Regions from separate parts of the Homo sapiens genome. Here region 2 is linked to region 1. Evidence: promoter capture Hi-C in human tissues and cell types (Jung and others, 2019). All regions are on one chromosome and are shown on one strand. The core of a region is centred on a gene start or on the middle of the fragment in contact, and the rest is flanking DNA. Distances in the headings are between cores, read along the strand shown.

What was found. Contacts are between HindIII fragments. The study calls those that stand out against the background at their distance.
Region 2: a contact is called between a fragment that was not itself captured here and the fragment with the promoter of FSIP1 in region 1, in 3 of the 25 tissues and cell types used here (IMR-90 fibroblasts, hippocampus and lymphoblastoid cells).

Annotation. Positions count from the first base shown.
Region 1 is chr15:39,779,120-39,784,649 of GRCh38, reverse strand. FSIP1 (fibrous sheath interacting protein 1) reads left to right here and starts at 1,809. Exons shown (of 12, transcript NM_152597.5): 1 at 1,809-2,022. It overlaps LOC105370941 (a long non-coding RNA gene), which reads right to left and starts at 1,744. Exons shown (of 1, transcript NR_135665.1): 1 at 1-1,744. RefSeq lists an enhancer at 1,570-1,699 and a silencer at 2,000-2,179. The HindIII fragment of the contact is 15,521 bases long and covers 1-5,530 here.
Region 2 is chr15:39,179,403-39,185,251 of GRCh38, reverse strand. All of the region lies in intron 1 of LOC105370777 (a long non-coding RNA gene), which reads left to right. LOC105370780 (a long non-coding RNA gene) reads right to left here. Exons shown (of 3, transcript XR_007064591.1): 3 at 5,223-5,435. Among named protein-coding and RNA genes, the nearest start is that of LINC02915, 68 kb to the left of the region's middle. The HindIII fragment of the contact is 5,782 bases long and covers 1-4,141 here.

The DNA.
Region 1 (5,530 bases), core at 560-3,059:
TCTGAAGCCTTTGTTTAAAAAATGAGAACTATTAAATTTAGAAGTGTTTACAAGAAGTGGGGTTTATAGCAAATATTCAAATGCTGGAAAACACAGAGAACATTATTGAGGAGTATTCAAATAATAGATCTCCTAGCAGGGTTAACTGTACTACCCAGAATCATGGGTTGGAAACTGTCAATTTAAGGATTTACTTTGAATCCAAAACCCGTTACTTTTTTGAACACTGCTCATAGAATTTGTATAAAGTATACAATGAGTATCAACCTATTTATATTTTATTTGCAAGAATGACTCACTGCCAGCGGCACACAGGGCCAGGAACATAGGCTTTCATGGCACCAACTACAAACAAGACTGACTGATGAGATTGTGGCCATGTCTCTCCCAAGTGCTCCTGACCTGGTTCCTGAAAATGTTCACCTCAACCTCGAACTCAGCATTTCCTGTGCTGGTTTTCAACTTGACATTGGTGAATTTCTTCAGTAACATCTCTAGGTCGGCTGCTAAGTTTTAATTCTCATAGGAGGATTAGGATACTTTCTCCCATTTTCTTCAGTTTGCAACTTTTTTTCTTTTGAGATTTGGAAAGCCACATAAATTCCCTGAGAAATGCTGGGAAGAAATCCCTGCACAGAAACACTAACAATGAGGACAGTGAGGCTGGAACCAGGTTTACCAGGGGAAAGCAGTAGGTAGGAGTGGAGGTCAGAGAGCCAACAGAAAGCCTTATCATTTAGAGATGATGTCAGTATGAACCTGAATGGAAGCACTGAAGTTGTGACGAATGTTTGGATTCTGAATATATTTTGAATGTTGAGCTGATAGGACAAATAGATTGTAGAGTGAGAGAGGAAGAAGAATTGAGGATGACTCCAAGGTTTTTGGTCTAGGCATGGCAGGCTGAAATTACCATTTGCTGAGATGGATAGAAAGTGGGTGGGGGACTCTGGAGAAGTTGTTTTTTCCCGTGTTAAGTTTGAGATGCTTACACATCTAAGTGGATATGCCAAATAGGCAGTTAGGTAAAGGAGTCTGGAGTTCAGGGAAGTCTGGGCTGGTGATAAGATGCAGGATTCAGGAGCATAGGGATGGCATTTATAGCCAGGTTTTTATACCCAGCACTCGCCTAGACTGCAGCTGTGTTCTTTCGGCAACTCAGCCTACGACTATTTGCTTCGCTGAAAAAAAACCACATCGTACCTAGTTAAAACAATGAGGACAAAGGGGCCATGAATGTGAAAATGCCCTGTAAACGGTAATGTGCTGTTCAGACTGGAAAGCAGGAGAAATGATGGCAATGGAGGTGAGGAAAATCAGTTTGTGGACGTAGGGAAATAATTTTCGTGCACTGAGAATTAGAGAAACTACGAAATGAAAGAAGGTGCAAAAAGCAATTATAACTCTTTTTGGACTGTAGCCGAATCTGTGCAAAACTCATATTTTTAAAATTTCCATAGCACCCCAAATTTACTAGAGCTTCACATACATGGTCTTTTTGAGCTGCACAAGTCTTGTAAGAAGGGAATTATTATTGTTCCCATTTTACGGAGGAGGAAACTGTGCTCGGAGAGGATAACTGACCTGTAAGGCATCACAGCAATATGAGGGACAGAGATACACAAGCATCCAGACGTCCGCGTTCCGAATCCAACCTAAAGACGAAAAATCGCTCCCAACCCCCACCGTCGGCAGCGAAGACGGAAGGACACACGCCGGCCGTCCCAGCTCGCAGGGCTCCAACAGCCGCCGGCCCCGGTCCCATTTCCGGATGGTACAGCCCTTTCCGCTATCGCGAGACCGGAAGCATCGCGCATCTGGTTGCCAGGGAAACAGCGGTCCCACAGGCAGGAGGGATCTGGACCGGCGGCTTCTTCCACTACCAGAGAGGCTGAGGTGGCGGGAGAGACCCCTCTCCTCTGGGGGTAAGTGGCTGGCGCGGCGAGTGTCTGCGGCGCGCTTCTGCGGCCATCTGCGCCCTGACTGACGGCGGCCAGTTCCTCGAGGAGGCCCGGCGGGAAGGTGAGGGGCCGCGCAGATGAGGGCGGAGCTCGGTCGCGGGGCGGTGCGCCGAGGAGTGGGCGGGGCGGAGCTGCGTCGGGCCGCTTGGCATGTAGATGGACTGTCAGGGAGAGCGGACAGGGCCAATGAGAGGGCGGGGGCGGGCTCATTGGGGGCGGGGCCCCAGCGGCTTCTGCCTCCGCGGAGGCTATTTCTCCAGGAATCACCTAACATTAGGACCTGTAACCAAGGCTTCTACTTTCCCGAGATTTGGATCTTCCCACCAAGATCTAGAACTGATCACCAGCCATTTAAACTAGACCGTAAACGGCAAAGGATGCAAATAGGCATTTCACAGGAAAAATAAAAAGATGCAAACAGCAAACAATTGATTAGAGACTCAACTTTTCTCGTGAAGAAATGTAAACCAAATTCACAGATACCTTTTACACCTATGAGACTGGAGAAGATGAAACAGCTTTGACATAACCAGATGGGCCCCAGCCCAGTGTAGGGGAAGTAGTGTAATTTGGTGCAGCCTTTTTGGAGTACAATTTGGCGAACTACCAAAATTTGAAACATAAGTGTTCTTTGACTCAGCAATTCTAATATATTTTATGGATGTATGAGCATAACTAAAGAAAGATTGGCACAAATATATTAACTTAAAATTGAGGTATAACTTACTTATGGTAAGCCTCACCCATTTAATCTACAGTTCTGTGAGTTTTGACAAATGTATACAGTTATGTAATTACCAACCACCACAATCAGCATACGGAAGTTTCATCATGAACCCCAAATTCCCTAGTGCTCTTTGTATTTAATCCCTCCCCTAACGCCATCCCTGGCAACAACTTCCTAGTTTTTTGTTCCTGTAATTTTGCCTATTCCAGAATGTCATATTGATGGAAGCAAACACCCTGTGGCCTTTTGAATCAGGCTTCTTTCAGCTTAGCATCATGCAGTTGCTATTCATTCATGTTCTGTGTATCAGTTGTTCCTTTATGTTGCTGAGTAATAGTCCATTGTATGGATCTACGGTAGTATATTTATCCATTTCCTACTTGAGGCATATTTGGATGAGTTCTTTCCAGTTGTTGGCTATTATTGATGAAGCTGGTATAAATATTCATGTACAGGTTTTTTTTTGTGTGTGTGAATATGTTTTCATTTCTTGGGTAAATATGAATGAGATTGTGGAGTCATATGGTAAATATATGTTTAACTTTATAAGAAACTGCTAAGCAGTTTTGAAAAGTGATGATTTTGCATTGTCATTGGCAATATGAGTGTTACAGTTGCTCTCCAACTTTGTCAGCACTTGGTATTGTCAGTTTTCTAAAAAATTAATTTTTGTCATTTGAATAGGTGTGTAGTGGTATCTCATTGTGATTTTTATTTTATTTTTTTGAGGGGTAATGATGTTGAACATCTTTTCATGTGCTCTTTTGCCATCCGTACATCATCTGGGGTGATGTGTGTGTCCAAATCCTTTGTTTTCTTGTTATTGAGTCTTGATACTTGTTTATATATTCTGGATATGAGTCCTTTGTCAGATATGTGTTTTGCAAATATTTGCTCCTAGTCTTTGGGTTTTGTTTTCCTTGTCTTAACATCTTTTGAAGACTACAAGTTTTAAATTTTGATGCCTTCCAATTTATCCATATTTTCTTTTATGAATCATGCCTTTGATGTTGTATCTAAGAAATTTTTGCCTAACCCACAGTCACATGTATTTTTTAGAAATTTTATAGTTTTGGCCAGGCACGGTGGCTCACCCCTGTAATCCCAGCACTTTGACAGGCTGAGGCAGGCAGATCACTTGAGGTCAGGGGTTCGAGACCAGCCTGGCCAACATAGTGAAACCTGTCTTTACTACAAATACAATAACAATAACAACGACAAAAAGAAAATTTTATAGTGTGAAGTTTTACTTTAGGTCTGTGATACATTTTGAGCAAGTTTTAGAATTGCTTTTAATAGCAAATATTCTATATACCACCTAAGTGAACTGATGAAAAAAGTGCTGCATCTATGGGATATTATGCTGTTGTTTGAAAGCATGACGTATATCTATAAATGGTGATATAGAAAAATAGATAAAATAAATTTTTTTTTCTTTTTTTGACACGGAGTCTCGCTCTGTTGCCCAGGCCGGAGTGGTGCAATCTCGGCTCACTGCAAGCTCCGCCTCCCGGGTTCAGGCCATTCTCCTGCCTTAGCCTCCCGAGTAGCTGGGACTACAGGCGCCCATCACCACTCCCGGCTAATTTTTTTGTATTTTTAGTAGAGACGGGGTTTCACCGTGTTAGCCAGGGTGTTCTTGATCCTCCTGACCTCGTGATCTGCCCGCCTCGGCCTCCCAAAGTGCTGGGATTACAGGCGTGAGCCACCGCGCCTGGCCAAAATTGATTGTTAATTGTGAAAAAGCAAGTTGCAAAGCACCATGCCATTTGTATGTGTGTCTGCGTTGGGGAGGAGTCGATGGGTATAAAAGATAGAAGGTTTGCATATGCCTAAAAAAATGAGACCTGCAAGTCTCTATTAACACTAATTCTTGGGATAAGCCGAATTTTGACTTAAAACATTTTGATATTCACCTGTATTATTTGATGTTTTTTCTGCATGGGCAAGTATTCCTTACAGATACACAAATATATAAAGTAAAAAAACTGACCATACATAAATAATTTTTAGACATAAAAATAATGAAACTAAATCAGTCCCACTTTTTAAAGTCTTGCTACTCATAATGACTAAACAGAGGAGGATTCATTTTCTTTTGATTCTTTTATTCACCTCAAAATACCAAATTATAGCAGCCATATGTCCCCATTTTGGCTTTAAATCATCTATGTTGATTGCATTTCTCAGAAGCCTCTATGAAAAACTTTAATCTTGTTTGAAATGAATGTTATATAAGTTGGCACTTGTTACAGTTTAGAATCTGGTCATATATCTAATCTATTTAATCAAGTATCATGAAGTAAATATGATTCTATTTTGAAGTGTTTTAATGTCATAAGAAAATGCTCATTATGTACTGGTGAAAAACACATTAGTCCAATTTTGTTGAAAAAGACAGAGCAAAAATGGGAAAGATGTACCAATAGCGTATAGCTCAGGGTGGTGGGATGTTGGGTGATTTTTATTTCTTTTCAAATACCTTTTAGTACATTCTAGAGATCTTTCTATAATAAATGAATTCTTTAGTTATAAATACAAGATATAGTTAATAGAAAAACAGAAAATACAGATAAGCAAGGGGACAAGAACATCCAGAAACCCACCAATCCAGAACCCACTACTCTTACTTCCTTGATGTGTCATCATCTTTCAGGTCCCTTTGTGTATATTCCTTTAATAAGAGAAGTTGGACTTTTTAAAGCAGGATTATTGGCAACTTGTATGTCTTTCTCTATTTTTTTTGATATGTGCATTTCTGTTTAAAATCTTTACCCAGTTTTCTATTAGAATTTTCTTTTCTTACTGATTGGTAAGAGCTCTATAAATATGTGAATATATT
Region 2 (5,849 bases), core at 1-2,500, 600 kb after region 1:
AAGCGTGGGTGGTTTGAGGTAAGTCCATGTCTCACGGATTGCCTGGGAGGCTTGGAAGCCTAACCACCCACGATGACAGGCCCTGACAGCCACAAGCAGGCATCACTAATCTGGGTCCCACTGCTCCATGCTCACTGTGTCAAAGGCTGCAGGTCAGTTGACAGCCTGGCAACCCTAAATTTGGAGTGCATCTAGGAAAAATAGTAATATTGTTTTCAGAAGTTGGCCCAATCTATTTTTTCTGAAAATGAACAAATAATAAAATGATCTATAAAGGCAACTCTCACATTGTGACAGTAAAATTCTATTGTCAATTTTATTGCTGTTACTCAGAGTGAGTCCTCTGTGTGAGGCGTCATCAGCAGGAATAACCAGGGTCATTGCTTGCCCTTTTTGGATTTTTTGTGCTAGAATCCTCTTGGGCTATTGTCAGTATGTGTCCTCCTCACCTCAGGGAAGTGAGACCTGAGTAATCACCCTTTTCACAACCCTTCTCAGAATTTTACAGAACAACTGGACTCAGTTAAGAAGCTCACAGCATCAGCATGCCTGGCAAGGAAGACCCTTTATTTCCCTTGTTAACAGGCCTGTGGTGGGCACTCAAACAACCAGATTGTCTCTCGGGAATCTCTTTGCCTTGTGAAACCTAGAAAATGTCTAGGGAATCTCTTTGCCTTGTGAAACCTAGAAAATGTCTTCAATGACAGGTGTTTTTGGAGGGGAGTTAAAGAAATAGCTTCTTCTCAATTAATGCAAAACACTGCCTCTCATTCCACCATGCAGCTCCACACATTGCTTCATGACTTTTCATCAGGCTTATGTAGCCCCAGAAGGGTACACTTTGGCAATAGGACATTGCCCTCTTCATTGTGCTTGGCAAAGCCCACTTGAGAAACGAAAGCTCCACAGAACCCCTCAAATTCATATGCTGGGCCACCCTAACTCTAATGTGAATGAGAATGGCCATAATGTGATAAAAACTTGTAAGTACCCAGCTTATTCCTCCTGAAGACCCTGAACACATTTCACACTGAGAAATATACTCTGGGCTCGATGTAAGCCATGGACAGGAAGCACTGCCATCAGCCAAGAGTAAGATTCCAGGAACTTCACCTGAAACCACTGCCAGATGAAAGCCACCTTGATTCTGTGACCATTGGAGACTTGGTTTCCTTAGTTGAATAAACACAGAATGTGGAGCTGGTAGATTCGGGATTAAAGCCCTCCACTGCCATTTAAGACGAATAGGGTTTTAGGTAGTCTTCTTAATTTCCCGAAGCTTCACTTTCTCATCTACAAAACCTGGAGATACCAATGCCTGTCTTATAGGGTTTCCAAAGCGATTAAATGTGCGCTCACAGAGAGAGGATGGGGACAAATAGCTCCCAAGGCATTCTTAACTGTGGAATCAAGATGGCCTCTTGGATCCTTGTAGCATCTCTCTAGGTGCCCAGTGGCTTTCACCTCCATGACTTCCTTGAGTCTCACACTAATCCCATGAAGGGGTTAAGAGCAGCTCTGGAACACTGTTGTGTAAGAAGAAAAAGGCACAATACTGAGAAGTTTAATGACTTTTTCCTAACATCATAACAGGTGGAACCAGGACTGATTGTTCTGCCCAAAACATTATCCAGGAAACTCTGCCAAATCATATTTTGTAAACAGTCTTACAATATCTGAACAGCAGATATTCAGGTGAGACACAAGGAAGAAGAGCTGTTCTACCCTGAAACTAGCCACAAATGAGAAGTTCTAGAATCTTCTCTGACGCTGAAGGATTTAGAAATGCCAATCATGAAAATGGCATTTCTGTTGAAAAAGTAATGATTCTTTAGCCACACCATTAACCTATTTAAAATGATGCAATCAATTTTGCTGTTAGTCATCTGCTGTGAATTATTGAGAAATAATGGCATTATGAAATATTATGAAGCCATTAAAAACAATGAGGCAGATCTATATGTGCTGAGATCAAAGGGTATCTATCAGATATTGTTTACTGAGAAATGCAGAGCAATATGTATAGTGTAATTGCATTTTTGTAAAAATAATATATACAACTTATATGGCATACCTGCTATAAGAGATCAGTAAGATTATATATCAAACTGTCAACTGGATTTGTCTCTGAGAATGTATTTGGAATGGGGATCAGGTAAAGGAATTTCAATTTTTTAAAACATTTTTTCCATTTAAAATTTTACAGTGAAGTGTATCCATCTTTTTAAACTGCAGAATATCAAAAGTCAGGAAAACAAAAAATCACATATAGTATATATAATAGATATTTATTAAATAAGAACTTAGTGAGTTTCATAATTCTGTTACAAAATATTACTATTATACTTCACATTTAATTTGGCTTTATAATATATATATTTTTAATATGCATTATGTCATTTGGGTTTTATATAACCCTCTTGAGTTGGGCAGACAGCATCTTACAAAATGGGATTTTGAGGCTCTGAGAGGTTACATCATTTTTCCAAGGTTATACATAAGTGATACTTGGACAATCTTCTTGTTACTTGACTTTTATTCTTTTACCTGAGATTTTTTGGGGCCCCTCTATGTGCTAGGCCCACTGTTCTCCCCACTACACCATATGCACTGCAATTTGCAAATAAAGATTTGAAAATACACAAGCACCATATAACTCAAAGCCTGAAAATGATAAATACAAACCTCTAACTAATGGATAACTCTTAGATGCAAATTTTATTTTGGTTACTCTCCCTATGTGCTTTTCTAATATAAGCTATAGCAGGTTTTATTTACTCAACCAAAGTTTCAGCTTGCTTTTCTGAAGAAAAGATTTGCTAGTTTCAACTTTAGCTTTTTTTCCTCTCTACCATTCACTTAAAGAGGCCATTACATGGTTTTTAGTTCATCTCTCACTTTAAAAGATAATCAAATGTCTGCACAGTCCTTTGTTTCTTTCTTCCATAGCAGATCATTTTTCCTTCATTTTTGTACGGGGAAAGGATTAGGCAGAAAAGATGTGCCAATCATCCCAAAAGACTGGAGAAGCTTATAAACTCATCCCCAAAGGGAAATTCTTTTGCCATCATGTCTCAATTAACTTAATTTCTGTGGTCTGACTTTGCAAATAGAAACTTGAGTCCATCGATGTGCTCAAAGTTAAACACCAAACAACTGCAAGCTTTAACTGTAGGGTGTTGGCTGGCTATGCTCACACAGAGGAGAACTGCAAGGAGAACTCTGTCCATAGTTATCCATTAATAAAGGCAATGCAGACAAATATGATTCATGAGGCTCCTGCTACAGAGGGATGGGTGGGCAGGAAATAAAGTCTTCTAAGGCAATGGAGTCAAGGAGGTCTGGGTTCTGGGGATAGCATTTGTTTACACACTTATTCTTTTATCCTATTTATGTAGGTGCTGCCTGTGATACAGGTATAAAAATGATTAACAAGTAGGGTTATTGCCTTCCTGGAACAATATTTTGGTGTGAAGATGGGACAACAAACCGATTTTTAAAAAATTAATTACAGATTGTAATAAATGCTAAGCAGAAAATAAGCATAATGCTATGATGGTTAATATCAATGGTGGGGGAAGGCAGGAACCTATTTAGATAGGGAGGTCAGAAAAACCTGAGAGGCAGCATCATAAACTCCTGTCATACATCATTCTAATCCCTGCTGCAAAGCAGACACAGCCCCTCCCCTCCCCTCTGCCAGATTTTAATACAGCTCTCTTGAAAAGGCTGGGAGTAAAATGCCAAATGGAATAATTCCTCCAATGTCATGTAATCAAGTCTTGCAATGTGTTAGCTAATTTTGTGCTGTAGCATTGTCATAAAATGTTTTCTGTGGCTGAAGAACGCCTATTTTCTTCTTTATTTTTACTCTTCTCCTCCCTTCTCAACTATTGCCATTTTAATTCTGACCTCCCACACAGCAATGAGTTGAGTTTTCTCTGCAGTGACCATTGTGCAGTTGTAAGAATTTGGAGAGCAGCAGGAGCCTGCTGGGGCTGTGACTTTGTCTGGTGGCCTTGTTCTCAGAGAGAGAGAGAGGAAAAAAAATGGGCTTAAGAGGAAGGATATAGATTATGAACAAAGGAAGCCTTCATGGCTGCAAATAAATAATGAGGACACAGGATCAATGGCAGCATAGAGCTCCTTTCCTAAATATTTAAGACAGTGAATTCTCTGGAATTGTTTTGGTACAGTCTTACCTTGAGGCACAGGACAACCCCCAGCAGACTTAGGGTGTCCCTTCATGTCCTAGGACACTATAACACAGAGTCTTTTTAAAAATTTTTCCCTTGACTTATTGTGTTCAAATGCTCTCCATTAGATAAAACCAGCAATGCAATGCCAAAAAAAAAAAGCATATATTTGGAATTCCTTCAGATGATCTGTTCTTGGACATACTGTTTAATTGCATGAGCTTTTCCAGATGTGAAACTCTGGGAAATAACACTCTATGGGAAATAACAAAGAATTTGTGAATTAAGTAAGTTATCCTGCTTTTATGCATTTTTTCCTGTGTGATTATATATTGTAAACAGAATGTTGAGGTTAATCATATGAATTTGTCAGAAAATGCACTCTCAGAATTGTTTTGCTTAATAAAAGTCAAAATTTCTTAAAAAGAAACCAGCTGTTTTACATTTATACCAAGATCAGGGTTAAATATTTAAGATCTTTGTATTGAGTCATTCCAAATGAGGTAACCAGTTCTCTTAAGACTAAATAGCATATCTCAAAGGCTATAATACATAGGAAAGAGTTTAATGTAAATTATACAATTAACATTTACAAAATAATTTCAACTGCTGTCTCTTTTTTTTTTTTTTTAGAGACCTGCCTGGTTTTAGCAAACATTCTGCTTTAGACAAATTACAGTCATTTACTTTCTTAATCTTTTTGGCTTGATGTAATGCTAATACTGTGAAATTCAGATTTGAAATATCTACATCTCCCTGGCCTGATGACAACCCTTATAGTCCATTTAGATGAAAGTAGCATTTGGAGTGCTTTTGGTGTGAATTACCCATACAACCACTCTCAGCTGCTGGTCCCCATGCCACGTAGGAGTCTCTCCTCCTTCACCAAAGGCATTTCCTTCCCTTGGATTGTGTCTGGAAAGCTTACCTAGCCACAGGGGGCAATAGTGTCTCCAGCAATTCCTCAGAGAACACCCAACTTTGGGACAAAGTCTTAGACTTTTATCATTTAGGGAGACAGTGATTTTATTCTACATAATTCTCAAGGCAATGGAATAGATGATCAGCTTGGAGAGTGATGCTTCATGACATCCCTTTTCCTTCACACTGGCTTCTAAGAACTAGCAGAAAGCTGGAGAAAACATTTTGCCTACGAAGGTTTGACCAGGGGCACTATTTAGCCAGGGCTGTGATCACAGTTCTGAAAATTTATATTTACTGGGCATAGGGAGCCGAGTCCTGGAAAAGATCAGAGATTAGGAAGTAAGATGATGGCATCAGTGTAGAGACTCAAGGCGTCAAACATCCTCAGAGTCTTTTACAGGTTCTCTAGTGTGTTTGCCTGGAGACCTTTATCTGGATATTCTTCTCCTGTCTGTTGAAATAAGGGATAGAAAAGGGGAAGCAATGCCCTTGGTAAAATAAATGCTAGTTTGATGTGTAGATAAGATGTCTGCAGTCTGGAGAGCTTGAGATTGAGGTGGAAGAACCATATTTGAGCTACCACATGGAAAAAACATACCCATGTGCCTGTATTCATATATTTTCATAAAGTCTCCTGGTTTCCTACCCCAGGGAAGAAAGATAAGCATGTTGGCATATGGATTAGTTTGGGAAGAATACAAATGTTTATGAGCCATGTTTTTACATTAA